Regions from separate parts of the Homo sapiens genome. Here all the other regions are linked to region 3. The links are contacts of gene promoters, found by promoter capture Hi-C in blood cells and fetal thymus (Javierre and others, 2016). All regions are on one chromosome and are shown on one strand. Each heading gives the region's core, a stretch centred on a gene start or on the middle of the fragment in contact. The rest is flanking DNA. Distances are from core to core; before and after follow the strand shown. Region 1 has its middle 100 kb from the start of EGFL6. Region 2 has its middle 11 kb from the start of LINC01203. Region 3 holds the start of FAM9C (family with sequence similarity 9 member C).

Evidence for each region. The method cuts DNA at HindIII sites, captures the fragments that hold promoters and counts their contacts. A CHiCAGO score of 5 or more calls a contact.
Region 1: a contact is called between a fragment that was not itself captured here and the fragment with the promoter of FAM9C in region 3, in 1 of 17 cell types (total CD8 T cells). The highest score is 5.2, in total CD8 T cells.
Region 2: a fragment that was not itself captured here is called in contact with the fragment with the promoter of FAM9C in region 3 in 1 of 17 cell types (activated CD4 T cells); the score reaches 5.5 in activated CD4 T cells.

The regions. Positions count from the first base shown.
Region 1 is chrX:13,464,522-13,468,561 of GRCh38, reverse strand. No RefSeq gene overlaps it. Among named protein-coding and RNA genes, the nearest start is that of EGFL6, 100 kb to the left of the region's middle. The HindIII fragment of the contact is 283 bases long and covers 1,406-1,688 here.
Region 2 is chrX:13,343,889-13,348,324 of GRCh38, reverse strand. No RefSeq gene overlaps it. Among named protein-coding and RNA genes, the nearest start is that of LINC01203, 11 kb to the right of the region's middle. The HindIII fragment of the contact is 719 bases long and covers 2,590-3,308 here.
Region 3 is chrX:13,043,359-13,048,008 of GRCh38, reverse strand. It overlaps FAM9C (family with sequence similarity 9 member C), which reads left to right and starts at 3,389. Exons shown (of 8, transcript NM_174901.6): 1 at 3,389-3,469; 2 at 4,152-4,280. The coding sequence starts at 4,220. LOC105373133 (a long non-coding RNA gene) reads right to left here and starts at 3,276. Exons shown (of 4, transcript NR_171577.1): 1 at 3,160-3,276. The HindIII fragment of the contact is 8,868 bases long and covers 1-4,650 here.

The DNA of each region.
Region 1 (4,040 bases), core at 298-2,797, 420 kb before region 3:
GGCTCATATGGAATGTTCAAAGATCTCATTCCAAGAGTTAGCTCTTCTGTGGGAAAGGGCCACAGGAAGTCCAAGCTTGAGCTCCAAAGGTGCTTCTTAAGCTCCTCCTCCAGCCCTAAAATCAAGGGGAAAGGCAGCTCTAGGGAGCTTTCTATCATGAAGTGGAAACAAGATTCAGTGAAGGGTCTATTCCTAGGATGCTCTCCCATTTCCCTGGGCTCTGGAATTCTTGGTTCCCACAGAACCTCAAACAGATGGTTGCAAGTTTGATTCTAGGCTTATGAAACTTGAGCCAGCCCCAAATGAAATCACCTCTGGGTTGGCCAGGAGCCACTTTTTCTAATATGTTTCCTTTCGCGCCTTTCACCCTACCCCGCATAGGAGTTGACGATCATCATTAAATGTCATATGTTTTCACACAATGGAAATGAATTGTCACAATCACTATGTTGTAGGATTAGGAAGGGCCTTATGCAGGTTTTTCCATCCTTTAAGATTTAATGATAAAAAAAAAAACCTTATTTTTTGAAAATCTTATGAGATGGGCATGGTGGCTCATGCCTATAACCCCAAAACTTTGGGAGGCCTAGGTGGGTGGATCACACTTGAGGTTAGGAGTTTGAGACCAGCCTTGCCAACATGGAGAAACTTCATCTCTACTAAAATAGAAAAATTAGCCAGACATGGTAGCGCATGCCTGTGATCCCAGCTACTTGGGAGGCTGAGGCAGGAAAACCACTGGAACCCAGGAGGCAGAGGTTGCAGTGAGCCAAGACTGTGCCACTGCACTCTAGCCTGGGTGACAGAGTGAGACTCTGTCACGAAAACAAAAGAAAAAAAAAAAATAAAAGAAATCTTCCACTAGTGTTGTGTGGAAGAAAAAAAAAATCTGTTCTCATAGGAATCCACTGTAAAAGCCAGTTCTCACTCTCCCAACATTCTTTGTAACAAACCTGAAAGTCTTACACTGCAAATTAAGCTAATTTCCTTTTCATTTAGCCTTTGCAGAACTGTCTACTGATATTTCCTGGTTTAACACATTATGATGAAAAGATGAACTCTGTTGAGAGAAATGATATTAATGGAAGTTTATTTTAAGGATGAGCTGACTATTCATATCTGGACACTCTACATTTGATTCCTGGCAGACCACTGGAGAGCTAAACATTTAGATCACATTGTCGGAGGCCTGCATGAAAAATTACTTTTGCTGGGAAGTGCATTGATATTTACCCTTGTTAGCTTCAGACACAGGGATCTTTTAATAAACACCCCTAGCACAGCAGCAATCACATTTATTCTAAAAGTGATGAAGATGTGGCCCATGTGAAGACCTGCATGGAAACGTTCTTCTAGATTCTATGTGCTAGGAAAAACTTTATTTCCTCAGAATTACTGGCAAGCTTTATTTCTTAGACAACATGAATCAAGCACTTGACTATATTTTCCCTTTTTGAGTGGGCCATAAGAAAGCTCAGTGCCAAATTTTGGGTTCATCTTTGGAGTGGAGCCTGCATAAATTTTTTTTTCTATTTTTCCCTTGGTTTTGTCCATGTGTATTTTTGCAAGGCCCAAATTTTAAGTTTTATACCTATTTCATCTTAGCAGATCTATGGAGCCATTTAGAATACTTTATGTATCAAGGCAGGGAGTAAATATAGCATAAACATTCTAATAACCCCTAAGCTTAAAAAATTATTTATCAAACTACCCCTCACTTACCTTTAAAAAAAGAAAAAGAACTAAATAAATCATGTGGTAGCTTACACTTTGAAATGGGGTCAGAATTTACAGGATAATTAAAATGCCAGCTCTGGTTCCAAGATGAGGGAAGACCCAGACACAAGATCACTGAGGAAGCCAAGATAGTATTTGCCAAATGTATAAAAGCAAAATGAGCAGGAAACATTTCTACCTATTTAAGAAAACATTGCAAATGAGAACTGCAATGAGGTCAGAGGACTGTGGATATGCAGAGCAGCTAGGGGAAAAATCCTGTCAGACCTTGTAGCATGGGTCTCCTGGATGACCCCACAAAAGCCTATAAGACATCAAGAGTGCACTGACTATAACAACAATGTGTAATTAATCCCAAACAATTTGTGTATCTCTCAATAGATATTTGTGAGAGGTAGTATGATCACCTTCGTGTGGGACATATTTTCCTCTTCATATACCGTTTACTTTCAAATGATTATTTGAGGAATCAGAGCCAGTGAAAAAAGAACTCTGGAGGAAGAATTATGAGAGGAAGAGAGCTGGGGAATTTATACTTTGCAGTGAGCATGAATTTTTTCTTTTTTGTTCATTTTTCAGCACAGTACTCAGGAAATATTTTTGAAGAAAAAGAAAACCACAAACAAGAATACTAATTAATTAAAATGCTAAGCAGGTACCAGTTCCCACATGGAATCTAACCATAACCAGTGATATGGAAACTCAACTTTTGGAAAAACTCAGGCCCCAAAATACATTTTGATAGTTTTAGGGCATAAAGGAACTTTAGGTCTTTGTGATAGAATTGGGAAGATGTGAGATATAAATGGTTGTGAGGTTTCATCAATGCAGGTCTTTGTTCATCAGGTTCAAATTAGCATTTTTTCTGCTAGTCCCTGAAAGTTCTGCTGAAGCTAAATTTAAAGACTGTCTGTATTAGTCCATTTTCACACTGTTATAAAGATACTACCTGAGGCCGGGTGCGGTGGCTTACGCCTGTAATCCCAGCACTTTGGGAAGCTGAGGTGGGCAGATCACTTGAGGTCAGGAGTTTAAGACCAGCCTGGCCAACATGGTGAAAGCCAGCCTGTCTCTACTAAAAAATTAGCAAATTAGCCAGGCATGGTGGTGTGTGCCTGTAATCCCAGCTACTCAGGAAGCTGAGGCAGGAGAATTGCTTGAACTTGGGAGGTGGAGGCTTCAGTGAGCCGAGATCGCACCACTGCGCTCCAGTCTGGGCAACAGAGTGAGACTCCATCTCAAAAAAAAAAAAAAAAAAAAAAAGTGGAAGGTGAAGGGAAAGCAAGGCATGTCTTACATGGTAGCAGGCAAAACAGAGAAGAGAGCAAAGGGGGAACTGCCAAACACTTTTAAAACCATCAACTCTGGTGAGCGAGAACAGCATGGGGGAAACTGTCCTCATGATCCAATCACCTCCCACCAGGTCTCTCCCATGACACATGGGGATTACAATTCGAGATGAGATTTGGGTGGGAACACAGAGCCAAACCATATCACTATCTCTTCCATAGCTATTTTCCCTCACATTGCTTTAATCAAGCCTCTTTCTCCCTGTGGGTCATCCTTACTTATGATCTCAAGAACCCACCCAGCCCAGCCTAGCCTCTCCCTGACCTTGTGCAAATGGTAGGAAGCCTGACGGTTTGCTCTGCCTTAAGGTCTTGCCTCATCTGCCCAGAGAACTCCAACCTGGCAGTAGGGAAGGCTGAAAACCAGCTCAAGTCAGAACAAGAACCCCCAGCAAATGCTCAGGAATTCATGGAACTAGACACCTCTGAAAATGGAAGGCAAGTGCTGCTTAAAGCAAGCAGATTTGTTAAACATCTGTATAAGAAGCAGTTAGAACCCCCAGCAGAGGGTAGGAGTTTTGTACCCTGGAAATGCTGAATCAGTGGGACTAGACTCTGGAAGGAAACTAAATTCAGTCAAGGGTAATGGTACTGTGCTGGAAACAGGAAGATTATCTAGAAGTCTGCACACTGTTGGGTAGTACCCAAGCCCCTCCCTTCAACTGGGATCTCAGTCAGCCAGGTTTACATTCCTCAGACAGGATATGGAAAATACCCTCTCTGGAAAGCCTCTCTCATAGCCTGGCTTCTGCCTGGGGGCCTAAGCATGCCACAAAATACAAACAACAGCAACAAAAACTGGCCCATGTGCATCAGTTACTGATTGCTACAATAATGCCACATAACAAATCATCCCAAAATTCAGTGACATAAAAATCAATTATTATTGCTTATGAGTCTATAAGATGCCTGAGTGGTTATTTTTGCTGTGTTTATGTACACATTTGTGATCAG
Region 2 (4,436 bases), core at 1,700-4,199, 300 kb before region 3:
TAGTATGTATCAGTAATTAGTTCTTTTTTATTGCTGAGTAGTATTCCATTGTATGGATATACTACAACTTGCTTATTCAATTACCTGTTGATAGATATTGGGGCTTTATCTATTTTGTTACAGTTGTTTTCCTAGTGCCTCAAACAGTGCCTGACATGTAGTAAGTACTCAATAAGTAGTACTTTAAAATAAGTGAATGAAAGAATTCCTTCTGGTGTGCTTCACCTTGTCCTTAAAACAATTATTGTTGCTATGAACAATCTGCAGCCATTACAAACCATGCCTTCAAAGAATATTGTATCATATGTAAGAACACAAATTGTTGCTGATAATAGGTCAGGCGAAAAAGGCAAAACCCCAGAGCACATAAAGGCCTAGAATGCATGGAGCAGTCTAATATATATATATAATCAACATATGTAATCTCTTTGACTTTATTTTTACTACTTCCCATAGTTTCCAAATTTTTGACAATGAAAGGAGATTCAACTTTTTTTTTCAAAAATGCAATTATATTTTTAAGAACAATCTGGCTGGGCACAGTGGCTCATGTTTATAATGCCTGTAATGCCAGCAATTTGGGAGGTCAAGGCGGGAGGACTGTTTGAGCTCAGGAGTTCAAGACCAGCCTAGGCGACATGGTGAAACCCCGTCTCTGCAAAAAAATACAAAAACTATCCAGGCATGGTGCCCCATGCTTGTAGTCCCAGCTACTTGGCCAGCTGATGTGGGAGGATCAATTGAGCCCGGGAGGTCCAGGCTGCAGTGAGCTGTGATCACACCACCACACTCCAGCCTGGGCAACAGGGCAAGACCTTGTCTCAAAAAAAATAAAAAATAATAATCTGCTCAAATGTTACTTCTTTCATGAATCTTTTGCCCTTTCCCCCAGGCAGAATCAATGGCTCCTGGCTCCTTCTGTAAAGGCAACATGGTATGTATCAGTCAACTCTTGCCAAAGTAATGCTGTATACAAAATCCCTACCTATCTCAGTAGCTTACCATTACAAACCTTTCTTTCTCCTGAGTCTGCAGGTTGGCTAGGTGAGAGGCATGGTGCTTTGCTTCAGGCAGAGGGTCAGCTAGGCTACTCTGATTCTATGCCTATTACCTTCTGACATGGCTTTGTGAAAGAGACGAGTGCAAACACATGATGCCTCTCAAAGCCAAGACTCAAGAACTGGCCCACAGTTCTTTAAACCTATATTCCATGGCTAAAACACAACGCACAGCTAACCCCATGGCAGTGGGGCAGAGAATGATCCTTCCATGGAGATCAGGAGGTGTGGGAAAGGAAATACTTGTTGAACAATAATTTAATCTACCACATTATAGGAGACACAACACTGGTTTTGGAGTCTTTTGAACCTGGCTTTGAAAGCTAGCTCAACCACTTAAGAGCTGTGTGCTTTGGGGCAACTTACTGTTTACCTTTTTTGTTAATTGGAGGTAATAAAATGCCTGGAAGAGGCGTTGTGAGCTTTAAATGAGGTTAGGTGTATGGTGACCACAGAAGTACACTAGTCAGAGCTCCTTCTAGAGAATGTGCAGTTGGCAAATAAGTATCCCAGCACTGGGTGCTGTCCCCCTGGATCCTCCATCAGGCTTGCCCTGAGGCCATGCTTCCCTCAGGCTGCACCCGGCCATTGATGAAGCCCAGCAGAGAAACTAAATCAGGCCCATTGCTGGAGGATGAGACTCCTCTAGTAGGAGACATGGGCTTGAAGGCCTCCCACTGATCTGGCTTAAACATTCTGACACCAGCACTGCAGTCTGAGGCTCTGTCTCCAATCCTCTTTCTCCCTTCCTTTGCTCCTCTAAGCTGGTGTCAGGCCTGCACTGCAGTTGGGAGACTCTCCCTGCACACCCCTGCTTCCTCCCCTTTATCCTGCACAGGTGTTTCTCCCAATACATCTCTAGCTCATTCAATTTCTTTTTTTTTTTTTTTCCTTTTTTTGAGACAGGGCCTCAGTCTGTTGCCCAGGCTGGAGTGCAGTGGTACAATCATGGCTCACTGCGGCCTTGATCTCCTGGGCTGAAGCGATCCTCCCATCTTAGCCTCTTGAGTAGCTGGAATGACAGGCACGCACCACCACACCCAGCTAATTTTTTGTGTGTTTTTTTTTTAATAGAGACAGGGTTTTGCTATGTTGCCCAGGCTAGTCTTAAACTCCTGGGCTCATGTGATCCTCCCACCTCGGCCTCCCATAGTGCTGGGATTACAGGTGTGAGCCACTGAGCCCAGCTGCACGTTCAATTTCCAATTTCATCTTGGTGTCTGCTTCTTGGAGGCAGACTGAGACACTGTATATTAAGTGCCTAGTAGAGTGCCTAAGAAAAAGTAGAAACTCAATACATTTTGTTTTTAAAAGATTATTTCTCTTGTTTACTCAAGATCTTTAACGTATATCTCATCTATAGCTGTTGTCACACTTCACAGATAGTTGAGGGTTTTCTGATTTTAGAAATTGTGATAAAATATGTGCAACATAAAATTTGTGATTTTAACCATTTTTAAGTGTACAACTCAGTGGCATTAGTTACATTCACAAAGTTGTAAAACCATCACCATGATCTGTTTCCAAAGCTTTTTCATCACCCCAAAATACTCTATTACTAAGCAATAACTCTTCCCCCGCTTCCAGTCCCTGGTAACCTTCATTATACTTCCTGTCTAAGTTGTTTTATTACTTATTTCCCATGGTTAACTGAGCTCAAAGGCAGGAATTTTGTCCTAGTTGTCTTTGTATTTTAGGTTGTGTACTAAATCTTAATAGAAATGAAATGAAAAATACAAACAGGGATGTACACTACTAAAGTGATGAATGCACCAGATTGTTTAACTTGATTGTAATTTTGATTGACGTTACTATCTCTCAATATTTTTGCTTCATGATAAAACTTGTAAAGAAAAAAGGAGGGTTTCTATGCATGCAGTTTAAGTGAATCTATCTTTTTCCCCTTGTGACCCCTTTCTCTCCTCTACTGCATTTTCTAAAGATCACTGCACACAATCGTTTAAGCAGAACGCCGGTTGTAGGTCAACAGATGATTTTGTAACAAGGGGGCAAAGGAAAAAATGCAAAACTTCCTCTTTCTCAACATTAGTTAGCATGGGAAAGTTAACATGATGTGCTTCAGAGGGTTCATTAGAGGGGGCTTTCCTTTATGTGGCATTTGACTGTTTCTACTCAAATAAAATGAACTGGCAAAATATTTGAGCAGAAATGTGTATGCCTTTCTGAATAAAAGGAGCCTGGAGGTAGCCGCTTCACCTTGCTGATTGTTTCCTTTGCTGTGTAGAAGCTTTTTAGTTTGATGTAGTCTCACTTGTTCATTGCTTATGTTGCTTGTGTTTTAGCGGTCATATCTAAACATATCACTGCCAACGTCAAGGAAGGCTTTTGCTGTGTTTTCTTCTAGGAGTATTACGGTTTTACGTCTTTAATCCATTTTGAGTTAATTTTTGCATATAACGTGAGATAAAACCCCAATTTTATTCTTTGCATGAGGGTATCTAGTTTTCCGAAAACCATTTATTAAAGAGACTGTCCTGTTCCCATCATGTATTCTTGGCACCCTTATCAAAGACTAGTTGACTGTACATGTGTGGGGTTATTTCTGGGCTCTTTATTCTGTTCCACTGATCTATGTCTCTGCTATTACAATAAAATCAGTATCTCCAAGAGATACTTGAGCCTCCATGTTCATTGCAGCATTATTCACAATAGCCAAGATATGGACACAACCTAAGTGTCTGTCAATGGATGGATGAATGAATAAAGAAAATGTGGTATGTAAATACAATGAGGCCAGGTGTGGTGGCTCATTCCTGTAATCCCAGCACTTTGGGAGGTCGAGGCAGGCAGATCATTTGAGGCCAGGAGTTCAAGACCAGCCTGGACAACATGGCGAAACCCTGTCTCTACTAAAAATACAAAAATTAGCTGGGTGTGGTGGCGGGCACCTGTAATCCCAGCTATTTAGGAGGCTAAGGCACAAGAATTGCTTGAACCTGGGAGGCAGAGGTTGCAGTGAGCCGAGATCGCACCATTGCAGTCCAGCCTGAGTGACAGAGTGAGACTTTGTCTCAAAAAATAAATTAATTACATAAATAAATACACTGAAATACTATTTGATCATAAAAAGAAGAAAATCCTGCTATCCATATGGGAAACATTATGATAAGTGAAATAAACTAGACACAATTACTGTATGATCTGAAAGAAACCAAAATATCTCACCCCAAAATATTATGCATCCCTATTGCTCACCACATACGAAAATTAACTCAAGATGGATTAATAGCTTGACCCAGTGCAGTGACTCATGCCTGTAATCCTAGCACTTTGGGAGGCCGAGGTAGCTGGATCGCTTGAGACCACGAGTTCAAGGCCAGCCTGGGAAACATGGCAAAACACCTTACCCCAGCCAGA
Region 3 (4,650 bases), core at 2,140-4,639:
TCTATCATCTGGGGAGATTTCACCGTCCTGAGGCCCAGGCCAAACTCCAACACAGTTAATCAGAAACTTAGTGGGTAGGATGGAGGCAGCAGTGTGTTTTGAAATTTCCTGAGTGATTCCAGGAGACGCCAGGGTGGGGCCCCTCTGCTCTAAGCTGAGATGTAATTCTCAGGACTGGGTGGTAGACTTTGCCATTTGATGAGAGGGTCTGAGCCTATGTCTCTACATGTATGCACAGCATTAATTCACGTATAGCAAACACAGCATTTGCTGACGGCCCACCATGTGCCAGCCATGGCGCTGAGTGCTGGAGAAGCAAAGTTGACAAAGACCTGCCCTTGAAGGAATTATAATCTAATTGGAGAGAGTCTTGAAAAGCCCACTGAGAAGGGCCCTGATAGAGTTTGCACAGAGAAGATCATAGGTGAGGGTATTTGTGCAGAGTACATCAGATAAGCCTTTCTGAAAGACATGAATGTTTTCATTCATTCTTAAACAGCTGGAGCCTAGAATTTGCTGCTTCATTCGAGTATAAACTTTTGCTAAGAGTCTAAGAATTGGAGAAAAGGCTGAAATGTGAATGAACATGAAGCCCTCAAACGTCTGGAGGATTATCAGCAGAGAAACTTCCATCTCCTGTGCTACCAGCCCTGTCTGATAAATGAGCAATTTGATTGGCTATTAGAGCGTAAATCACTAATTCAGGCTACAGAGTATGGATGTATACAGTCTTTAACCCAGTGATCACATCTTAGATTTCTAGATGTTTTCAAAATGAACAATTGTTGTTGCCATTTGATGAGAGGGTCTGAGCCTATGTCTCTACATGTATGCACAGCATACATGTTGTTTTCCAACATTTTATTATTAGAAATTTCAAATACACAGAAAAGTTGAAAGAATTTCATGGAAAACATTCATGTTCCCATCACCTAGATTCTATCATTGACATCTGGCCATACTGTTGTTGCTTATCACATATCTAGCCATCTGTTTGTCCCTCTGTCTGTCTATGAATCCAAGCAGTGCATTTCTTTCAGTTAGTTCTTAATGACAGCAATAGAAGAGTGAGGGCTGCTTTGAAAATTGGTGTTATTTCTACATTTGTTATGAAGCATTATCCTTACTTGTCAGTCAATTCACATAGGGTGGAGTAGGGTGTTGGGGGTAGGAGGGGGTTACACCTCCAGTTATTAGAAACCAATTCTCTAAATTAAAGTACTTATTCTAATAACTCTTGAGAAATCTCCTTTAAATTTGCTTAAACATTTCCTGTGGTCTTTGTAGATAACCTCTAGTGGGAAAAAAAAAAAATTGAAGTGACCATGTTTGCCCTAAAGGCTTTGGTTAGTTCACAAAACCTGTTTCCGCAACCCAGAGTTGCTTCAAATAGACTTCCTCCCTTTACAAAGGCTTAATGATTTGTGTATTGAGTTGTTTCTTTCTGGGAGACATCTCACAAATACTCCAGTTGGGAAAAAGAGATAAATTGCTCCATCCAAAGTTTAAAAGAATTTCTTCAGGGTTTTGTAACTTGGACACTTGGTGTTCTGAAAAGAATGTCTTTGTGCCTATTTAAAATTGCAGAATCCTTTTCAGTTTGTTTCTAGGCTGTTATGCCAAAGAAGTAGCTCTGTAATCCCCATTTGTCTTCACCTGACATCAAATTCCACTTTGTGATGGAGAATTGTTCCTTGATTTGACATTCTTTTAAAGAAAAATGAGCCAGCATTGAATTCTTAGCTGAATACCAGTAGTTGGTGTATGTGTGTATGTGTTTCCAATTATAGACAGAACCTGGTATAGTACTTTCAGCTGAAATCTTTGATGAAGCATATGAAAATTACATTGATCCAGATGGGATAGAAAGCTGTAAGACTGGTTGCACAAAGCCCTCTGCAAGATTTGTCTTCTTTCTTAATGTTACACATCTTAAGCTCGAAAGAGAGAGAAACCTGAAGCAATCATGGCTTAAAATTCCCCAAGATGTCTCATTGGCTAATTTGGGTACCAAGTAGATTGTGGGGAAATGGGGACAGCTGGTGGTATTTAGTGTCAGTAATTAGGGATTCTCTTTAGGTTATAGAGAACTCTTAGATATAAAGGTGAGCTGCCTTGTCAGGGAAAGATGGCTTCCAACCCAGCTGTGGAAATAATCGGGCTGGGCACGATGGCTCAAGCCTGTAACCCCAGCACTTTAGGAGGCTGAGGCGGGCGGATCGCTTGAGCCCAGGAGTTGCAGACCAGCCTGGGCAACATAGTGAGACCTCATCTCTGCAAAAAATAAACAAAATTGGCCAGGAGCGGTGGTTCATGCCTGTAATCCTAGCACTTTGGGAGGCTGAGGCGGGCAGACTGACTGAGCTCAGGAGTTCGAGACCAGCCTGGGCAACACGGTGAAACCCTGTCTCTACTAAAATACAAAAAAAAAAAAAAAAAAATCAGCCAGGCGTGGCGGCGTGCGCCTATAGTCCCAGCTACTTGGGAGGCTGAGGCAGGAGAATTGCTTGAACCAGGGAGGCAGAGGTTGCAGGAAGCCGAGATCGTGCCACTGCACTCCAGCCTGGGGACAGAGTAAGACTCTGTCTCTAAAAATAAATAAATAAATAAAATAAAATTAGCTGGGCATGGTGGGACATGCCTGTAGTCCCAGCTACTTGGGAGGCTGTGGTGGGAGGATCCCTTGAGCGCGGGCAGTTGAGGCTACAGTGAGTAGTGATTACACCATTGCAGCCCAGCCTGGGTGACAGAGCAAGACCCTGTCAAAAAAAAAAAAAAAAAGAAAAAAGAAAAATGAAAGAAAAGAAATGACCACATCATGAGAAATCTAGACATAAAGTCTTTAACTTTGTATATCCACTGCAGAATCATGCAATGCCCAGTGTGAGGGAATGGAGTAGGATAGGAGAAAACTACCTGCCCCTGCTGGGAGTCAACAATTTTCTTAGATAAAACATAAAAGCACAATCCATTGATAAAAAGGATGCAGCTGGGCGTGTTGGAAGCACACAGGACATGGGAGGGAGCCTGGGCTCCACCCGCAGGGTGATGGCCATTCCACCCAAAGGGGCAGGAGTGGCTGGAACGAGCCTGGGGGCAAGGTCCTAGGCCCCGTTCACTTGGCCTCCATTCCTTAGGGCAGGGTCCCCTGGCACTCACCACTCCCGAGTCCTTGCTTCCTTCACCAGGATGAGGAGCTGGAATATCGTGGGGACAGAGGCCTCAGAGAGCCACCCAATGAGTCCACAGCAGCCATGGACAGTCCGTGAGGGGGAGGGTGTGCCTGCAGGGGGCGTGGCCCCATGCCGCCCGCCACCTGCATGCGCACTGGGCCGACCAATCAGCGAGGAGCGCGGGCAGCCGGGGCGGCTGCTGCTCTCGTGAGAACAGAGGACCCAGGCCCTCGGAGGAGCTTCGCGGTGCCAGCCTCTGCAGGTCCTCTGAGGGAGCAACATCAGGGCTCCCTCAGGTGAGACGCCCTCGGTGGGGATGCGGGGAAGGCGGGCCAGAGGCCCTTTGGGGAAGAGGGTGTGAAGGGCGGGGCAGCCAGGCTGATCTGTGAGGAAATGGCCCAGGCATTGTCGCCTGGGGCCTGGGTCAGGGCAGGGAGTTGGAGCTGCCTGAGTGGTCCCCAGGACCCAGGAGGGTCCCGGAGGCCTGTGCATGTGTGCAGCGTTTGGGGGGGGGTCGGGGGGTCAACGTGGGTCCGTCTTGTCTGGCTGCCCATCAGGACGGGATACTTGGGGTCACCAGGGGTCCCCTGGGCGTCCAGGCTGGCGAATGGGCAGTCCCTGCCCCTGTCAGAAACAGGTGCGTACCGGCTCATTCCCATGGAGATGGCTGGGGAGATCCTGTGTCACCCCGCGGCCCTCCCGACTCCACTGGGTCGCTGGGGAACCCAGGGGCAGGGCCAGGCTCTGTCCCAAGGGCACTGCAAGAATCCCGCAGAGGCCGCGGAATTCTGCGAGCTCTGCAGCCAGCCCCGGGGAAGCGCTGGACGGGCCAGGACAGGAGGGGATGATGGCATCTTCTCCGCGTCCCCTCCTGCTCCCACGGGAGACCCGGGGCGCCCTTGAACCTGCGATCCTGATGATTTTCATTTAACACGCCTCGTTTCCTTAGTGTCCTTAGTGTGTCTTTGCACTCACCAGGTTCAGAGGTCGCCTCTAGCTTCCCAGGCCAGTCAGCCACGGAGCCCGTGGGCAGGAAGGGCAGCAGGATGGCTGCCAAGGACCAGTTGGAGGTTCAAGTTATGGCCGCCCAGGAAATGGAGCTTGCAGGTAAACACAGCCCAAGGGGACCTAGAAGAAGGTGCACGCCCAACAGTCTGTCTGCTTTCTGGGCGGGGCGCACATGGGCAGCCCGAGGCCCCCGGCCCCTTCGTGGCTTTGGAGCTCACCGTGCATGTGCTGAGATGCCCCAGGTTTTCAAAGCAGGCTCAAGGGCCTTAGGCTTCCCGTGGGAGGCTCCCCCTCATAGCAGGGTTACAGATGCTCTCAGAGCAGCTCTTCTCCATGGATGCGGTCCTGACATCCAAGGGATCTGACCTGTGAACGTTGTTTACTGGGACTTGAACCCGAAGGGCTTCCAAAAATGCCTCCGTAAAATGGTTAGGAGCCGGCGATTCCATGTATAGCTCTGCGGTAAAGC